Linked DNA regions of Homo sapiens: all the other regions are linked to region 1. The links are contacts of gene promoters, found by promoter capture Hi-C in blood cells and fetal thymus (Javierre and others, 2016). All regions are on one chromosome and are shown on one strand. The core of a region is centred on a gene start or on the middle of the fragment in contact, and the rest is flanking DNA. Distances in the headings are between cores, read along the strand shown.

Evidence for each region. Contacts are between HindIII fragments. The CHiCAGO score rates a contact against its expected background, and 5 or more counts as called.
Region 2: a fragment that was not itself captured here is called in contact with the fragment with the promoter of SAMSN1-AS1 in region 1 in 4 of 17 cell types (M2 macrophages, M0 macrophages, naive CD8 T cells and 1 more); the score reaches 7.6 in M2 macrophages.
Region 3: a fragment that was not itself captured here is called in contact with the fragment with the promoter of SAMSN1-AS1 in region 1 in 2 of 17 cell types (total CD4 T cells and activated CD4 T cells); the score reaches 6.2 in total CD4 T cells.

The regions. Positions count from the first base shown.
Region 1 is chr21:14,580,843-14,583,542 of GRCh38, forward strand. It overlaps SAMSN1-AS1 (SAMSN1 antisense RNA 1), which reads left to right and starts at 1,360. Exons shown (of 5, transcript NR_046512.2): 1 at 1,360-1,449. It also overlaps a transcript of SAMSN1 not described here. The HindIII fragment of the contact is 2,204 bases long and covers 1-1,452 here.
Region 2 is chr21:15,588,674-15,591,373 of GRCh38, forward strand. The region is part of intron 1 of LOC105369302 (a long non-coding RNA gene); the gene reads right to left. Among named protein-coding and RNA genes, the nearest start is that of USP25, 140 kb to the right of the region's middle. The HindIII fragment of the contact is 1,807 bases long and covers 357-2,163 here.
Region 3 is chr21:15,746,507-15,749,206 of GRCh38, forward strand. All of the region lies in intron 1 of USP25 (ubiquitin specific peptidase 25), which reads left to right. Among named protein-coding and RNA genes, the nearest start is that of USP25, 18 kb to the left of the region's middle. The HindIII fragment of the contact is 2,106 bases long and covers 259-2,364 here.

The sequences.
Region 1 (2,700 bases), core at 110-2,609:
GGCTCCCTGGATACACAGAATTGTCCCATTCATTCACTGAAAACACACATGACCAGAGGAGCTGTAGGTAAAGTTATAAAACATGCCTTGAGCAATTTACAAGGAAATTGAAAAAAAAGTACCACTCTTAAGTACTAGAAGATTTATAATATTTGACTTTAGCTTCTTGACTATTTCCATTTTTTAGTTAAGAAAGTTAAGATTAAAAGGTTTAAATAACTTATCCAAGCCCAAAAAAAAAGTAGCACAGCCAGAATCCATCCAAATTTGTTTGACTCCAGAGAGCATACTCTTTCTCACGTATCACATAATAGCCTTAGAGTCTGCCCTCGTATATGGAAAACACTCTAATGTAGTAGCTAAAAGCAGGAGCTCTAGCTAAAAGCAAGACCTAGGTTATAGGTCTTGGCTCTACCTCCTGTTAGCTGTCTGACTTTGCACCTGTTACCAACTTTTTGTGCCTCCATTTTCTCAACTGTAAAATGAGGGGAAATAATATTTCTTTTTTTTTTTTTTTTTTTTTTTTTTTTTTTTGAGGACGAGTCTTGCTCAGTCGCCCAGGCTGGAGGGCAGTGGCGCGATCTCGGCTCACTGCAAGCTCCACCTCCTGGGTTCACGCCATTCTTCCGCCTCAGCCTCCCGAGTAGCTGGAACTACAGGTGCCCGCCACCACGCCCGGCTAATTTTTTTGTATTTTTAGTAGAGACGGGGTTTCACCTTGTTAGCCAGGATGGTCTCGATCTCCTGACCTCATGATCCTCCCGCCTCGGCCTCCCAAAAGTGCTGGGATTACAGGCATGAGCCACCGTGCCTGGCCAAAAATAATATTTCTTAAGGTAATATTTCATAATGTAAGTCCTTACCTTATAGAGTTGATGTGAGATTTAAATGAGATAATACATATAAAATGCTTAGGAAAATGGCAGGCCCAAATAAAATGCTCATTAAAATTAGCTATTATTTTTCAGTGAAATTTCATTATAATTGCAATAATTTAGACAGTTCACTTCACATTTTCTTGATCTCAGTCAACACACGAAGTCTTCCTTCAATCAAAAAGAAATCCCTGGAAAAATTTTATGCAGTCATTAATTTGTACACAAAGGAATATATGAAATGTTAATATGGGTAAAAGTCACAAGAGTTTGGTTGCTTTTTGGAAAGACAACTCTTGCTCTGGTAACTTTTCTGAAACTGATAAATTTCACTGATTAGCACTTTTGCTATCTGTTTCTTTCCCGACAGTACAAAACCCCAGATAAGATGACACATTTCCGTAGTCTGCAAACTTACCCATGAATGTAGGAGATCCATATCTGAGCAGGAAGACTTGAGACGTGTGTGGCGAATACAAGAGGAGCAGTGGTCCCAGGGTCCAACTTGTGCTATTTGGAAATCAAGACATGTCCAGAGAGGGTTTTCAGGAAAAGGCTTCCAGTGATGCCACATGTAAGCTTCACCTTCATACCAAGCTAATTTATCTTCCAAGTTGCAGTTATTTAAAGTGCTGGATCTACCCAGTGATGCAGAAAGAGTATCCAATCTAATCTCCATTTCTTCCTTCCTCCTCGTGCTAACACTATTCACTTTCTTTTCTCGGGACTTGGTTAATTTCAAACAAGAAATCAACGTGTCATCTTCATCTTCTGAATGACAAAGAAATAGGTTAAAAACTATGATTATAATTCTTCACATATAGGAATTATTCTTCCATTTATATAAGAGAAATAAATACACTGCAATGGATAAACCAAGAAGTCATTCAATTTTATAAAATTATTTACAGCAGCATTTATTTAAAAAGCAAGTTATTTTGCTATATAAAATTTTTTGTTTTGTAAAAGTCGCATTTTTCTGACATTTTTGAAACCATAACAATTGATTAAATTCTATCTCACTGGAAAGAATGGAGGCCACATACAAATAATATGCTGAAAGATATTTGAGAAAAAAATACAATTAAAAAACCCACCTCTTATGTTTCTATTCTTAAATATTTTTTTAATTTTTAAGGTCATGTGTATAATAAAGAATTATAAGGAAATAAATAAAATTATTTGCCCTACTTAAAAGAATAAAATCTCAGTGGTTTGGACTGAAATCCTACTGACATTCTGAAATTGTCTATTTTAATATCAATCTACCAAGAGATGTATGGATGCAGTGTGTCTCACAGTGAAATGGTTTTCAAAAAACAAGAACGACAAAAATTTAAAAAAGCCATATCTGTAATACCATAAAGTTCATTTGTGAGATCTATATTTACACAATGTGGCAAAGACTCTGATGAAATTTCTAGTAATGTAGAAAACAGTTACAGAAAATAGAAATATATATCACCCAGAGTCAATTGCTCTATGTCATGGAATCCCTTTAAATCCAAACGTTTAATGGGTATTTTTAAAAGAGTTCGATTACTTAAGGCATGCTATTATAAATAAATAAATGAAAATCAAAGTTGCATGCCATGGACATACCAATTTGTTATGCTTACATCAAAATTCAAATACATTGTTTTCTATGGCCAAGGAATGGCGACAGTGGACACTGCTGAGCTTCCTCCATTGCTCTCTCTCACTGTGTCTCGGAGCCCGGTCTTGAAGGCAAGGAGAAACGGGGCGGTGCATAAATACGGGGTAAAATTCAGGAACAGATGGGGATGTCTGTTTTAAAATAACTTGGCAATAAAAAAAAATCCTC
Region 2 (2,700 bases), core at 10-2,509, 1.0 Mb after region 1:
AATTAGGGACATTGCCCACACTTTTTAATTTTATTTTATTTTATTATTTTTGAGATAGGGTCTCACACTGTCACTCAGGCTGAGTTGCCATGACACAATCATGGCTCACTGCCGCTGTGACCTCCTGGGCTCAAGCAATCCTCTCACTTCTCAGCCTCCTCAATAGCTGGGGCTATGGGTGCCTGCCACCATGCCTGGCTGATTTCTGTATTTTTAGTAGAGATTTGGTCTCACAATGTGGCCTAGGCTGGTCTCGAACTCCTGGGCTCAAGTGATCTGCCTGCCTCAGCCTCCCAAGGTGCTGGGATAGCAGGCATGAGTCACTGTTCCCAGCTGCTCACAACTTTAAAAAAGAAAGCTTAGTGTCTCAACTACATTCTAATGTCATATGGATTATGTTCCAACAAATTCTTTTTCTCAAAGAAAACAATTATTTAAAAAATCATTAACATGTTTGTTTATTATTTGACATTTAAAATGTGCTGTTTTTATATTGAAATAACTCTATCCAAAGTGTACGAAGAGAGAATGGATTCCCTAAGATGGTCAAGTGCAGCAGCATGTTAGCTATCAGACAATAATAAATTGGGAATGACAGATAGTGCTGACCATGGTGCATTCCATAGTGAGAATGGTAAGGACTTAGCAGCTTCCCATTAAATTAATGAGAACCCTCAGCCTTTTTGGCCAGCAAGATTAAGCAACATAATGGAGACATCTGAATACCTTTCTACCACCCTGGGAATGAAAGGCAAGATTGAAAGGACAACCAATTCAGTTAAGTGTTTGGCTTTTCACCCAGGTTACCCCTAGATTGGGCTGTTATTCCACTATTCTCTCATTTTGGCTTTCAAGATCAGCAGCAGCTAAAATAGCATTTTTGAAGTCTTTTAGGTTGTTTATACCCTTGTTTCCTAGATCAATAAGAAATAGAAAGACCAGGAATCCCTCCAGGTCCCTAAAACTGTCCAATAAAGATGTGCCATTAATTTGGATTTATAAGTAGGGTTTTCATTTTATGGTCTGCTTGCTTTTTATAATCAGCAACTCTTCAGTCTGCTATGTAAAAGGAGGCATAGCAATTAGTTAAAAGCTGAAGTGAAAAAGACTAGAATCTAACTGTGGATTTTTCCTCTTCTGTGAGGCAGGATGTGAGAAATCAAAGTATTGGATTAGGAATTAGGCGAGTAGTGCCACTAACAACATGTGCAGCCTGGAAAAATCCAGTCTCTCAAAGCCTCAGTCTCTCCATTGGTAATCAGTTTGACAGTATGATGGCTACATTTTTCAGCATTTCTAACTATATTGCTCTCTTTAAAAACAAAGACTGATATGGAGAATGAGTAGGTAACAGAGCACCAGTATTCCCAAGAAGATATATGCCCAAGAAAATGAATCCTCTCTTGGGCATACATCTTCTTCTGTAAATGGGAATCTATTTACAGATTTTATTTATTTATTTTTCTTGAGACAGAGTCTCACTCTGTCCCTCAGGCTGGAGTGTAGTGATGCGATCTTGGGATCTTGGCTCACTGCAACCTCCGCCTCTTGGGTTTAAGCAATTCTTGTGCCTCAGCTTCTTGAGTACCTGAGAATTCAGGTGTGCGCCACCACACCCGGCTACTTTTTGTGTAGAGATGGAGTTTCACCATGTTGGCCAGGCTGGTCTCACACTCCTGACCTCATGTGGTCCACCCCACCTTGGCCTCCTGGAGTGCTAGGATTACAAGCGTGAGCCACCACGCCCGGCCTATTTACAGATTTATGCTATCTATTTTTCTACTATTGAACACTCAAATTCTAATCCATGGAAATTCCATTTATATATTGAAGAGTAAGCACACAGAACATTGTTCACATTGCTACTGTTAGTATTTTTTACCGGGACTTATAACATCACCTGTTAGGTCAACATTGATCCACCAGTCAACACAATTTGTTTGTATTTTTGCTTTCTTTAATCCATAATTTAATTCTCTTAACCCCCCTGGGAAAAATCCGTAGGCATCACTTTGAAGTTTATTTCTCATAATCTTTTAAAACATAGGTCATTAAGTGACTGTGTTTCCATTTAGAGGATTAATCCTCTGTGTGTTTTCTAATTCCTTAGGCTGACTAGTCTTGTCATCTCAATAGCCATTAATATCTTACCCAGAGAACGGAAGCTTAAAGAAAGCTGTTGAAGATTTAAGATAATCTATAAGTTTGGATAGTTTTTTTTATTTATCATATTCATTTATTTATTTGAGACAAGAGTCTTGCTCTGTCACCCAGGCTGGAGTGCAGTGATGCGATCTCGGCTCACTGCAATCTCTGTCTCCCCAGTTCAAGCGATTCTCATGCCTCACCCTCCGGAGTAGCTGGGATTACAATCGTGTCCCACCACACCTGGCTAATTTTTGTATTTTTATTAGAGATGAGGTTTCACTGTGTTGGCCTGACCTCAAGTGATCCACCCACCTCAGCCTCCCAAAGTGCTGGGATTATAGGCGTGAGCCACTGTGCCTGGCCAAAGGTTTTAAAATTGTAAAGACCTGTAACATTAACCTTTGCATAGAGAAACACATAGTGGGGTTACTAGATCTGTATGTTTCACAGACTTCTGAGAGAGCTCAAGCCCCAGGAAAATAATGAAATCAAACTTTAGTGTCCAAAATTTCTTAGTAGTTTTTTATGAAAGTCTGCAAGGAAAAGAAATAG
Region 3 (2,700 bases), core at 62-2,561, 1.2 Mb after region 1:
GCCTCAGCCTCCCTAGTAGCTGGGACTACAGGTGTGTGCCACCACACCCGGCTAATTTTTTGTATTTTTAGTAGAGATGGAGTTTCACTGTGTTATAGCCAGGATAGTCTTGATCTCTGGACAGCATGATCCACCAGCCTCGGCCTCCCAAAGTGCTGGGATTACAGTTGTGAGCCACTGCACCCTGCCAGTGGTTTTTAGTTTTTATTCCAATTGTTTTTTGCTGGTATATAGAATGTGGTTGATTTTTCTGTATGAAGCTTGTATCTGCGACTTTGCGAAATTCACTTATTCTAATAAATGTATTTACCACTTTTATTCATTTTAAAAATTGTGCTTTTTGGGGTATTCTCTAAAATGTTTAATAGAAGTGGTAATGACAGACATCTTTGTCTTGTTCCCGATTTTGTATGGAAAGCAGTCTTTTACTACTAAGTATGGTTTTAGTTGTTGCACTTCTTATTTTGTTAAAAATGTGTTATTGTTAATTTATACTTCTAGATATACTACAGCTTAACCATTCTACAGTTAAACTATTTGTTTATATATCTTTTTATATATTTATGGTCCACTGTGATTCTTTTCTGTGAAATTGACATTTGTTTCTCTTGCCTGTTTTTTCTTTTGGGCTATTTATCTTTTTCTTTATGATTTGAGGTAGTTCTTTATGGTTTAGATACTACTTTTGTTTTTCTATTTACAATAGTCCACGTTTACTCTCATGGAATGTGTTCCAAGACCCCCAGTGGATGCCTGAAACTGTGGCTAGTATTGAACCATTTATAGAGTATATTTTGAAAGAGACTACATTCACATAACATACTGTATATGTTTTCAAAATATTTGAAATAGTATACCATATATAGTATGGTTCAGTACTATATAGAATATAGTATATATAGTTTTTTCTTATCTATATATACCTGTGATAAAGTTTAATTTATAAATTAGGCACTATATAACTATATAGTACATATAGTTTTTTTCCTATATATAGTATCTACCTGTGATAAAGTTTAATTTATAAATTAGGTAATTTATAAATTAGTAGAGACTAACAACAATAACTAGTAATGAAATAGAACAACTATGATAATATAATGTTGTGTGAATGTAGTCTTTTTCAAAATATCCGATAACTGAGATGGCTGCTGACTACTAAGTGGGTAGTATACACAGTGTGGATATGTTGGACAAAGGGAAGATTCATGTTGTGGGTGGCATGGAGTGAGATTTCATTATGCACAGCACTCAGTCAGAATAGTGCACAATTTAAAACATCGTTTCTGGAACTTTTCATATTTTTGGACTACGCTTGATCATTGGTAACTGAAACTTCAAAAAGTGAAACGAGATAAGGGGAAACTACTGTATATGTTTTGCAAATATTTTCTGTTTTCACGATGTCTTTTTATTCTCTTTATGTACTTTCATGAGTAGACATTTTTATTTTTAATTTAGTTTCATGTATAATTAGCTTCCTTTAATATTTGAACTTCCATGTCCTGTTTCACAAAGATAGTCTCATTTATTGCCCTCTAAGTGTTTTCTTAATTTGTCTTCATGCAGGGTTTAAGTTTCATTCCACTTGGGTTTGATTTTTGCATGTTGTTTGAGTAGATGTCAGAATTTTTCCCCTCTGGAGAACCAGCGACTTTATTGAACAGTTCCTCCTTCCCATTAATACTCTGCCTGACAACAGTATGTATACTTTTTAAATTCTTCAGTTGGGACCATTGTAAAGAAAAACAGGTGTCAGGAACTTTCGCCCTTGAATTAAAAAATATATTTTTGAGACAGAGTCTTGCTCTCTTGCCCAGGCTGGAGTGCAGTGGCATAATCATAGCCTGCTTCAGCCTCAAACTCCTGGACCCACACTATCCTCCCTCCTCAGCCTCCCAAGTAGCTGGGACTACAGGTGTGTACCATCCACCCAGCTACTTTTTAGTTTTTTTTTTTTTTTTTTTTTTTTTTGTAGAGATGGGGTCTCGCTCTGTTTCCCAGGCTGGTCTTGAATTCCTGGTGTTAAGCAAACCTTTCACTTTGGCCTTCCAAAGCATTGGCATTACAGGCATGAGCCACTGTGCTCAGCCAAATTAAAATATTTTTATTATGGTTTTACTGAAACTTGTTTAAATATAAACTAGGCATACATTTATTATGTTCTGTTGGGTAGCTCTTATGTAATAAGATGAAAAACCAACTACTAACTTAAAGGTAACCAAAACTACAAAACTGGAGAAATTCAGAATAAAAAGGTTAGCTTAATTTGACAGATGGCAGTGTTTTGCAGAAGCTAATTTGGCATTTGTGGCTTCAACTAAGGAAATCGGTATATGTATTTCAGGATATTGTAATATGTTAAGCTTTTGGAAGTAAATTTTATTTCTGTTGTCAACTATACTGCATTTCTGACTTGATACCTAATTAATAACCATTATTGTAGAGTGAGTGGTATTTTTGGTCTTTTTATTGTAAAACTGTAACAGATATGCTCTCAAGTGTGTTTTTTTTTTTAATTTTTTTTTCTTAAGCTATAGCTCAGTAAATGCCGATATTTCCATGTTGAACTGAACAGGTTGTGTGATTTAATGTAGAGCAGGATACACTTGCTGTGAATAAGAGGTAACAATTATAGCTTACCTATAAGTTAGCGCCAAATAAATATTCATCAGAACTTGTGAGTACTTTGCCTTGTGT